2 separate regions of the Homo sapiens genome follow, and region 2 is linked to region 1. The links are contacts of gene promoters, found by promoter capture Hi-C in human tissues and cell types (Jung and others, 2019). All regions are on one chromosome and are shown on one strand. Each heading gives the region's core, a stretch centred on a gene start or on the middle of the fragment in contact. The rest is flanking DNA. Distances are from core to core; before and after follow the strand shown.

The links. Contacts are between HindIII fragments. The study calls those that stand out against the background at their distance.
Region 2: a contact is called between a fragment that was not itself captured here and the fragment with the promoter of SARDH in region 1, in 2 of the 25 tissues and cell types used here (bladder and mesenchymal stem cells).

Annotation. Positions count from the first base shown.
Region 1 is chr9:133,735,679-133,741,545 of GRCh38, forward strand. It overlaps SARDH (sarcosine dehydrogenase), which reads right to left and starts at 2,674. Exons shown (of 21, transcript NM_001134707.2): 1 at 2,576-2,674. The HindIII fragment of the contact is 19,009 bases long and covers 1-5,867 here.
Region 2 is chr9:133,173,348-133,179,214 of GRCh38, forward strand. No RefSeq gene overlaps it. Among named protein-coding and RNA genes, the nearest start is that of GBGT1, 12 kb to the left of the region's middle. The HindIII fragment of the contact is 3,395 bases long and covers 931-4,325 here.

The DNA of each region.
Region 1 (5,867 bases), core at 1,424-3,923:
TTTACCTGTCCTCAAACTGACCCTTTGCTCATTCTAATAGTAAAAAAACACACCCCTCGGTGGAGATTTTAAGATGCTAATGAGGCCGGGCTCTGTGGCTCATGCCTGTAATCCCAGCACTTGGGGAGGCCGAGGCAGGCGGATCACCTGAGGTCAGGAGTTTGAGACCAGCCTGACCAACATGGAGAAACCCCATCTCTACTAAAAATACATTAGCCGGGGGTGGTGGTGCATGCCTGTAATCCCAGCTACTCTGGAGGCTGAGACAGGAGACTTGCTTAAACCCGGGAGGTGGAGGCTGCAGTAAGCCGAGATTGTGCCATTGCACTCCAGCCTGGGCAACAAGAGTGAAACTCCGTCTCAAAAAAAAAAAAAAAAAGATGCGAAAGAGACATGTGACGTATGAACAAACATGTACAGCTACCGCATGTGCACCCAGAGGACCAGCCATCACATGCTGCCTAGTAACCTCTTCCTCTCTTTCCACCCACTTATGAATAATTGTGGAAGACTCCCTGAAAGGGGGTTTCTCCAACAATCATCAATGCTGCCTCACACTCAGGAGCAGCCCCCCGCCTGGAATCCTCTCTCTCCCAGGGTGCATCCGCACCTAACTTTCAAAATGTTCTTTTTCTTTTGCAATAAATTGCTCTATGTTGCAGCTCTTTTGCTGTGTGTCTCATGTTTAAATTCTGTTTTGTTGTTGTTGTTGTTGTTTGTTTGTTTGTTTGTTTTGAGAAAGAGTCCCACTCTGTCTTCCAGGCTGGAGTGCAGTGGCATGATCTTGGCTCACTGCAACCTCTGCCTCCTGGGTTCAAGCGATTCTCCCACCTCAGCCTCTCGAGTAGCTGGGATTATAGGTGCATGCCACCATGCCTGGCTAATTTTTGTATCTTTAGTAGAGACAGGGTTTCACCATGTTGGCCAGGCTGGTCTCGAACTCCTGACCTCAGGTGATCCGCCTGCCTCGGCCTCCCAAAGTGCTGGGATTACAGGCATGAGCCACTGTGCCCAGCCTAAATTCTTTAAACTAAGAAGTTAAGAACGGAGGTCTCACAACAGCCCTCAATGGAAGGGTGGGGTGGTGTCCTGCCCAGTGTGGACCTCCACTGCCCTTTTCTGGGATCTGCAGGAAAAGTGAAAGGGATGTGGCTGTGATCCAAGATGTGAAGTGCTGTGCCACCTACGTCAGTATGAATGACTGATATAATTATCTAAGAAAGTCAGCATCCTTTTTCAAGAGTGGACCATAGCTATGCACGTTCGTTCACTCTCATTGAACACCTATAGACACATGATAATGTCTCTACTTCACAGCGGGGGAGTCTGACACACGGAGAGGCTCCCTGAGGTGACCAGGGTCATAGGGCCTCCATGTGGCAGTGCCAGGGACTCTCTCCTGCCCCCTCTTCTGACCATCCCAGGGGGACTCAGGACCCACTGCCACACTCTGTCCCACCTGAACTGTGGGCACTGCCCAAGCCCTGACGAAGCCCAGAACCCTGTCCTAGGCACAGTGGGGGATGTGAGGGGGATCCCAGCTCTCAGGCTGGTCAGGGCTGCCCCCCATCTCCTGCCCCAGTGCCCCATCCCAAGGGAGGGAGCAGGGAGTCTGATTGCAGCGGCGTAGGGGAGTGAGGAGGTGTTGGAGCTTGTCCTCAGCCTCTCAGCCCTCAGTGTGTCAGCCCGCCTGGCTCCTGCCTGCAGAGGTGGCCCCGGACAAGGAGGCATGCCTCCTGCATGTGTCTGTACATACCTTCAGTCCTTGAAGGTCCACAGTCTTCCAGGAGCCCCCAAAAGTGGTGCCCCACCAGGGGAAAGCCAGCTTGAGTGGCACCGAGGAAGGCCCTCCAAGGCTGAACACCCCCACCCCACCACCCACCACCCACCACGGTGCCGCATGGCACAGCACACCTGGTCAGCTGTGGGCAAAAGCCTCCCTCCTCCTTCCGACTGTGCCCAAAAAGCGACAGCTGCTGGCGCCGGAGGCTGCCACGTGCCCCTTCACCACCTGCCTGGTCAGTCAGGGCTCTTCTGACTGTCAGACTGGGGGCTGGCAGCGGCCCCAGCGGGGACAGCCCAGAGCCCCTCCTGCCTGCCACCTCCCTGGAAACAGCTGCCTCCACATTAACCCACTCTCTTGCCCCCTCCAACTCTGTCTCGTACCTGAGTCAGCTTCCCAGGAGTGAGGGCTGAGGACAGCCCTGGGCTTGGGATCAGACAGATGGGTGGGGGTTTTGTCACAGGACTGGGGCCTCGAGCAACAACTTAACCTCACTGCAAAGCAGAGGACCCAGGAACGCCCTCCTCCTCCCAGGCTCAGGGGGTGGTGGGGGTCAAGCGAGGAGAGCGCCTGGCACCTTCGCCTGGTGAGGGTAGGCAGACTTGTGGGGAGGAGCGGCAGGGGGCGGGGAGGCAGCTGCCCATATGGTGAACCCTGGTCCTGCTCATGCAGCTGGATGGTCCCTGCAGCCAGAGGCAGAGGGAGATCCCAGCCAGATCTGACCAGGCCCAGCCCCGCCCACATAGGGGAGGCCCCAGCCTCGTCCCTCCCTGGGGGTGTACCTCCAAGTACCTCTTGTCAGCTGCAGTGCCCCTCGGCCCTAAGAGTGCTTGGCCCAGCAGAGGTGCCTTCACCTTCTTGCTTCCCAAGCAGTGGCCTGGCCGGAACTCCAGGCCTCCCCCGCCCCCCACCCTCGCTGCCAGCCCCATGTCTCCGCCCAGGATCTGGGCGGAGCGTACCGCCCACCACTGCGGCTTCTAGGCCAGCTTAGTTGGGGCTTCTAGGCCAGCCCTGTGGGCAGCTCCCTCTGAGGGCGGCAGAGCAGGGTTGTGAACCCCATGCCCCATTACCCGTAGGCGACCTGGCAGTCACCCTTCCGCTCCAACCCTCATTTCCTCGTCTCTGAAACAGGCGCCTCAGGGTTGCTGCAGTAGACCCAGGCACCACCTGCCTGCTGGAGCCGCCCGAGCTCCCCGCGCCCAGAAGGAGCTATGCACAGGCAGGGTGGGCAGGAAAGGTGGGGTCAGCAGCAGCTTGGGCCAGGGGCCCGTCCACTGCAGGGAGGCTCCTTTGGTGAGGTCATCTCAGCACATGCCCCAGTTTGCTCACCCCCAGGGACAGGATGCTCACTGCCTTCAGAGGCGAGTGAGAAGGCCTGGGTCAGCTTCCCAGGGACAGGGTCTCCTGGTCTGTCTGCGTCCTGCTTTCCCGAGCTCCCAGACCCCTCTGGTGTTTGGGGAGATGCCCCCAAGCCACTGGCTACTGCACAGCACGTAGCCCCCAGGGCAGGGATTCCAGCCTCCATTGACTGTTGGGGACAGCAGTGCCCAGGGAGGGGGCCACACAGCAAGCTGGTGGAGGAGGCAGACCGGATGCTGCAGCCTGACTCTGGGCTGGGGCAAGTTACCCCTTCCCAGACAGAAGTAGACACCCAGAGGAGGGGTGTGGAGGAAACCCAGAAAGAATACACCTCTGGATGCCCAAAGAATCAGAACAGGTGCTGATGGAAAGTCACATCTCCTCCTCGCGCTGGATCAAAGACGGGGCATTTCAATGGCAGTCTGTTAATATTGTAATGATGCCAGCTGCCAATACCGGAAGCGATCGTATAGTAAACTGCTGTAATTAATACCAATCAAATCATTGTGTTCTTATTCACACCGAGGATGTCCGACTGTCTTGTTGCCAGCTTGTCTATCCTCTACATTTACTGAATGCCCAATGTGTACAAAGCACTGCTGGGAAACCTATAGTGACATCTAAGACCCAGCCCCTGCCCTCGAGGGGCTCAGGGTCCACGAAGCAGACAGATCCAGGGAGAGACACGACACCACAAGGCTGGCTTCCTTCCAGCAGGGAATCCAGGAGGACCTCTTAGAGGAGGGGGCCTGGGCTCTGGGCCTGACCACGTGCTGACACCATTCTCAGTCCCTGCCTCAAAGGCAAAGGGCCCACTGGCTTAGGCCCCTGGCTGCCCAGTGGAAAGCTGGCCCCGCCAGTTTGAGGCTTACCTGGGGTGGTGTGGGGGTCCTGGGGCAGAGGACCTCCTCTTTGGATGGTGTGGCTTGCCCAGTGGCCTGAGCTAGGGCTGTGCTCACCCAACAGGGTGACGAATGAGCTCAAGAGGGCAAGGAAGGAGTGTGGCCCAAGTTCTCCCAGGAGTCCTGGACGTGCAAGTGCATGGGAGAAAAACGCAGCAGTCACCACAGCTCCAGGGCAGTGGCCGGGTAGCCCACACTTCTCCTGTCCCTGCACTCAAAGACAAGTTGCAACTGTTGCAAAACTGTTACAAGCCAAGAGGGCAGCACAATGAACCTGCACTTTGGACAAGGGGTGGTGGCTGGGGGCCGGTCCCGGCCTGTTAGCTGTCTGTTAGTATCGTAGGATTTTCATCCGGCAGGGCCTGTTAGCACCCAGCTCCGGTCTGGGAGAGGTGGAAAGGCTGTCTCCCCCCAGGGACTAGTAGTCACAGCTCTGGAGAGGCCAGGCTCCGGACAAGGAGGCCAAGACAGGGTCCTGTACGATCTCGGGCTGGTCTTATCACCTCTCCCTTTGCTGAGACTTAGTTTTCCCATCTTGGAACAGGAGGCTGGAAGCCCTGCCATGTCAGTTTCACAGAAGCCTTGTAAATTTCCCTGAGTAAATTTCCTTCAGTCCTGCTCTAGATCACACCAACAGAGGGGCTGCCACCTCAAAGAAGTCACCCCACCAGGGATAAAATCTACTTGATCACGGTGCATGATCTTTTTAATGTGCTGTTGAATTTGGTTTGCTAATTTTTTTTTTTTTTAGACGGAGTCTTGCTCTGTCGCCCATGCTGGAGTGCGGTGGCACGATCTCGGCTCACTGCAACCTCCGCCTTCCCGGTTCAAGCGATTCTCCTCCCTCAGCCTCCCAAGTAGCTGGGATTACAGGCACGCACCACCGTGCCCAGCTAATTTTTTGTATTTTTAGTAGAGACGGGGTTTGACCATGAATGGCCAAGCTGGTTTCGAACTCCTGACCTTAAGTGATCCCCCCACCTCGTCCTCCCAAAGCGTTAGGATTACAGGTGTGAGCCACCGCGCCCAGCTGGTTTGCTAATATTTTGAGAGGATTGTTGCATCTATGTTCATCAAGGATATCGGTCTATAATTTTCTTTCTTGTAATGTTATCTGGCTTTGGTATCAGGGTAATGCTGGTCTCGTAAAATGAGTATGACTCTATGTTTAGTGCACTCTGAAGAAAACTGTGGTGCAAATCAAAGTCACAGTTGACTCTACATTCAGGAGTGAGGGGCTGCCTCCAGGTTCACTGCCCTCCCCAGCCTCCCCGCCACCGCTCCAGTGGGGACTGTGGTAGACTTGTTCCTCTGCCCTCATGGCCTGGACATACCTGAGCCAACCCCAAGACTCTTCCTCTGGCTCAGGCTGGCCCTCTCTGCAGGCCCCCACCAGCCCTTGGCCCCGACTTGCTGGCCAGGCTTCCAGGACAGAGAGAGGTGCCTGCAGGCTGCCCTCTGACGGGGCAGAAGTCCAGGGAGGAAGAAGCGGAGGCGTTGGGGGAGGAGGCTCCTCCACCGAGCTCTGCGTGCAGCCCTGTGAAAGAGGACATGAGCAACAGCATCCCAACCCAAACTATAAGAGCCAACATCACCACTGACCAGGAGGAAGGCAGTGCCCCAGTCACCTCTGAGGGCCTCCTGGGAGTCAGGCAGCGTGCTAAAGGCTTCACACGTGTCATCTCAAATGAGACAGCAACAACTGCTACCCATCGTGGAGATGGGAAAACTGAGGGAGAACACAGCCAACAGGTGCCAGACCCAGGTGATTCATGGGCCAGGGAAATTTCCAGAACAATTTTCAAGGGCTGAATTTACACTGC
Region 2 (5,867 bases), core at 1,378-3,877, 560 kb before region 1:
ATGGACCGTCCCTGCACGTCACAGAGTGGGCGTGAGCTCCACGTGGGGAGTGACCTCATCGGATCACGCTCACTGAGGCACACAGCTGGGCACACAGCAGGACCAGAGAATATTTGCTGAATGAGTGAATGCATCAGGAAGCTATGGTGCTGGTGTTACCAGCTGTTAAAACTTCAGACAAGTTAAATTTGATGGAGTTTAATTGGAAAAAAATAAAAAAGAAATGATTCACAAATCGGGCAGCCTCCAGAATCACAGCAGATTCAGAGACTCTGGGGGTTCCTCGTGGTCAGAACAAATTTATAGACAAAAAAGTAAAGTGATGTACAGGAATTGGAAATGAAGTACAGAAACAGAGATTGGTTGCATCTCGGCGTTTGCCTTAGTTGAACACAGTTTAAACACTCAGCAGTCTATGAGTGGTTGAAGTATGGCCGCTGGGATTGGCCAACACTCAGCCATTGTTATAGGTGCATACTACTAAGTTGGGTTTTCCATCTTGTCTGCCTATTAAGCCAGCTTATGGTTCATCCACAAGGACTCAAATAGAGAGGTAGGGAGTCCCTTCTTAGGCCATATTTAGTTTGCTTTAACAATTCCCCTCTTTTGGTCAGCCTCTCAATTTAGAGAGATTGACCGAAGCTTTAGGCATTGATGCCACTCTCTGTCACCATCCTAAAGACTTATTTGGTCTCAGTGTGGAATTCACAAGTCTTCTTTAGTTTCAGTATGGAGTCTCACACATCTTCTTTGGTGTTAACATGGAATTCACAAGTTGCAGCTTTGTACCAGCTAAATGATTCTTTATGTTCTTTTTGACCTGGTTGGAATGAGACCATTCAACTCTCAATGGATGGCTGCATACAAAACATTTAAGACTTGAGAGGATACAGTGTATCAGGGTGACGATTATTATGACTATCAAGAGGATACTATCAAAATGCCAAGGCGTACTCCTTAATGAGAGTTCTTATGAAATGAACCGAACCAAATTAGCCAAGTGAAGGTTCAGACAATATAGGCAGTTCAACAGTGTTAGGGTCCAATTGGTCATTATCCTCGTTTAGAGTATGATAGCGATTAAGGACCATGGTTTGCTGTAAAGTGGCCTGACTTAAACAGTTACTCATTTTCATTGTTACATTGGTAATACAAGTCATAATAACTTGGAAACCTACTAGAAGAATTATAAGGATTAGAAGCCCTTGGAAAACCCAAGCTTGCCATCCACCCTTAGGATGCCTGCAAACCGTTAGTTGCCTATTGTAAACATGTCATGGGCTCCTTTCTCTTGAGAGATGTCTTTAATGTATTTGGTGGCAGTGTCTAAGGAAACAGCAGTATCAGCACCTTTTAAATTAAGCTTCCTGTAATAACAAAATCAGGTAAGAGATAAGTAGTACAACATTCAGTTTTGTTTAACACCAAACCTAGGCTTCCAGCTTGAGCAAAAAGATCTGAGGTTGCACGATGTTCCAGTAAGTGTTTTTGCTGAATTCACGTGTTGTCATCTATCTTTTTTTTTTTTGAGATGGAGTCTCACTCTGTTGCCCAGGCTGGAGTGCAATGGCATTATCTTGGCTCACTGCAACCACCGCCTCCTGGGTTCAAGCGATTCTACTGCCTCAGCCTCCCAAGTAGCTGGGATTACAGGCATGAGCCACCATGCCTGGCTAATTTTTGTATTTTTAGTAGAGATGGGGTTTCACCATGTTGGCCAGGCTGGTCTCAAACTTCTGACCTCAAGAGATCTGCCCGCCTTGGCCTCCCAAATGCCGGGATTACAGGCGTGAGCCACCATGCCCAGCCCTGTCATCTATCTTTCTGAGAGCAGCTTCTACCCATCTGAAACCCTGGGAGGTCTGATTGATTACAAAATCCAAGATTTTTCCCAATTTACAAATTAGCTTTAAATTCCATACAACTGCTATCTCACTACCACCAAGAGTGCACCCCCAGGAATCCCACTGGAATCTTTCCTCAGTAGAAACGAGCTTATCCTCAAATATTTCAAGGCTAGTGCTAATTTCAGTTATTGATCATTTTGGCCTCCAATCATAAGGGCCATCATGAGAATTTTCAGGGGAAGCTATTTGAAAGGCAGGAGCAAGCCAGGCCACATAACAAGAACCCAACCAATGAGGAGGCAGAACAGGATACGCAGACTCTTCACAGACCCAGTATAGACCCTTGGGGATTGGAAAAGAGGGCCACCTAGTTGCATTTGAGCAGAGATCAGTCAGGTTTGTTCGACCACAAATCTGCATACCTCCTGAACAACGTCCAGTGGGAAATTTACTTTTCTGTGGCCCCTTTATAGCATGTTGTAAGGGTATATAACCATATCTAGTAAAAAAGAGACCCTACTGGATTTAATCCAGTTACATTATACAAGCAATCACTTGTATCAACATAAGTAATTCCCAAATCTTGAGTGCGTGATGTCTGGAAGCACAATGTATCTTTTGCTGGCATCACTTGGATTTTTTTTTTTGAGACGAAGTTTCGCTCTTGTTGCCCAGGCTGGAGTGGAGTGTAATGGCACGATCTTGGCTCACTGCAACCTCTGCCTCCCAGGTTCAAGTGATTCTCCTACCTCAGCCTCCCCAGTAGCTGGGATTATAGGCGCCTACCACCATGCCTGGCTAATTTTTGTATTTTTAGTAGAGATGGGGTTTTACCATGTTGGCCAGGCTGGTCTCAAACTCCTGACCTCAGTTGATCCACCTGCCTCAGCCTCCCAAAGTGCTGGGATTACAGACATGAGCCACTGCACCCAGCCTTGGATTGTTTTTTTATATTTGGTAATGATCGACTTATCAATTGAAAAAGTTAGAGTGTTGTTTTTAGTGAGTGTAGGAAGCAAGTAGCAGTGATGTTTAGCATATCAAGAATAACTTTCTGTTCTTCCCTTAGTTTCAGGTAGCTCTCGCTGGGAACGCGGAGGGGCACTGGCACCAGTGGAATCATTTCCTGATTTTTTTTTGGCATTAGCCCACAAACCCAACAATTACTCTGGTTTTGTGCTAGAGCATAAACTTGAGCTAAAGCCATCCACTGATTATGGTGCCATGGGTTTGCCTGTAGGGAAAAGGACAAGATTAGGGCAGAAGATGAGGAAAACAGAAAAACACATAAGGCTTTCCTGATGATAGAGAAGTCTTGGTCCATGATCTTGGGAAAGCTGTCCAAAACTAGGATGCTGTCTGCTTCTGAAGAGAGATTTCCTTGGTCAGCTTTACTTTAAAGTCTCCAACAGGTGTACAGTTCCAGGACTCTGAAGGGGCCCCTTTTTGTTTTTTTGAGACGGAGTCTTGCTCTGTTGCCCAGGCTGGAGTGCAGTGGCGCGATCTCGGCTCACTGCAAGCTCTGCCTCCCGGGTTCACACCATTCTCCTGCCTCAGTCTCCCGAGTAGCTGGTACTACAGGTGCCTGCCACCACGCCCGGCTAATTTTTTTGTATTTTTTAGTAGAGAGGGGGTTTCACCATGTTAGCCAAGATGGTCTCGATCTCCTGACCTTGTGATCCACCCACCTCGGCCTCCCGAAGGGCTGGGATTACAGACGTGAGCCACCACGCCCGGCCAAAAACATGCAAACTATTACAAGAACATACTGATACCCCATTGCGCGTCACAACTAAATTAAGTCCATCTGTAAATGCTCAAATTGTTCATCAGGTGGTGGAAATATATGACCTGAAGTTTTGATTGTTTTTCCAGGATTATGAGTTTGACAAGTCAAACATTGATTATAAACCATTTTAGCAATTTTGGAACAGTCACCCGACCAGTATTTTTTCATAATTTGGATCATTTTGTCTGTTCCATGATGAGCGGTGGAGTGCAGCGTTTTCAACAATGGAAGCTTCAAAGACTCAGGAAGGACCAGGCGGCCGTCTGGGCCCTCCGTGAGTCTGTGCATCACATTAAATTTACATCCTTTTAGATACCAATTTTGCTTTTCCAAATCAGGTGCACTGCACTGTTTACTAAGCAGGTCATCATAAGGAAGTGGGCTCGGCTTAATCCAATGGAGTTCATTCAGATTGCATTTCTTAACAGTTTCAGCACTAGCTGATTTAGCATAAAAATTTGCTAAAGCATTTCCCTGATATTTGGGTTCAGTTCTACAAGTATGAGCTTCAATCTTAGTAACAACAGTCTACAATGGTAACAGGATAGCAGAAAGGGGCTCATTTACTTGGGGTCTATTTTTGATGGAGGTCCCACTAGAGGTGAGAAACCCTCATAGTTTCCATATCACGCCAAAATCATGTACTACTCCGAAAGCATATCTACTAGCTGTATAAATATTTACTGACTTGTCCTCAGCTATATGACAAACTTGGGTAAGGACAAAAAGCTCTGCAGTTCGGGCTGACTTAAATTGAGGAAGCGTTTCCTTCTCTATTCACTCATTTTGGATGGTAACAGCATATTCTGCCTGGTATTTTCCTTCTGAGATTTTAGGATAGGACCTATCAACAAAAAGTATAAATCCAGGATTATCCACTGGAGTATCTTGTAAATCAACATGAGGGGCCACTATTTCTGGCACTACATTTACACAGTTGTGTTCTTCACCATCGTCAGGCAAAGGTAACAGAGTAGCAGGGTTAAGTAGATTACAGCATTTTAAATGAAGATTAGGAGATAGCAGTAATTCATAAAATGTTAGTTTACTTACTGAAAAATGCTGGGTTTGGTTGGAATTTAACAGACTTTCCACAGCATGTGAGGTTTGCAAATTAAGTTCGCTTCCTAAAACCAGATCTGATGAAGCTTCTACCAGCTTGGCAGCTGCTGCTACTGCTTTTAAACAGTTAGAATATGCCTTAGAGTCTGGGCCTAATTGCAGGCTATCGTATGCAATGGACCTATGTTTAGCACCACGTTCTTGTGTAAGGACTCCTAATGCCTGATTGTCACACTCATGAACAAACAAGGTGAAAGGCTTAGGGTAATTTGGAAGTCCTAAAGCTGGGGGCTGTTGTAAGGCCAACTTCATTTGGCTAAAAGCCTGCTCATGACTATCTTCCCAAGGTAAAGGCTCTGGTACAGCATTTTTAGTGAGTTCATACAATGGCGAACCTATTAAGGAAAAATTTGGAACCCAGGATCTGCAATATCCTGTAAGTCCAAGAAATCCTCTTAATTGTCTTTTGGTTTCAGGTCAAGGAAAACTTTGAACAGTTTTTATCCTCCCAGGTGAGAGGAAATCCCTTTGGCAGTCAAGTCATGTCCCAAATAGTGGAATTTTTCTTTTGAAAACTGAAGTTTTTCCATTTAAGCCTTGTGATCTTTATATGCAAGTTGTTGTAAAAGGTAAACTGAGTCAATTTCAGAGCACTCCTTAGTGGGAGAACAATAAGTCATCTACATACTGAATGAGAGTACAATTTTGAGGAAATTGTAGTGTTATTAAGTCCTGATGCAATGCCTGGGAAAAATATGAAGTGGCTTTGGTAAACCCTAGTGGCTTTACAGCCCAGGTGTATTGCCTATTTTTCCAAGTAAAGGCAAACAAGTATTGACTTTTTTTTTTCTTTGGAGACAGAGTTTCGCTGCTGTCGCCCAGGCTGGAATGCAATGGCATGGTCTTGGCTCATTGCAACCTCTGCCTCCTGGGTTCAAGCGATTCTCCTGTCTCAGCCTCCTGAGTAGCTGGGATTACTTACAGGTGCCCGCCACCATGCCTGACTACTTTTTGTATTTTTAGTAGAGATGGGGGTTTCACCATGTTGGTCAGGCTGTCTTGAGCTCCTGGCCTCAGGTGATTCACCTGCCTCGGCCTTCCAAAGTGCTGGGATTACAGGCGTGAGCCACCAAACTTTCTTTATGAACTGGAATGCTAAAGAAGGCTAA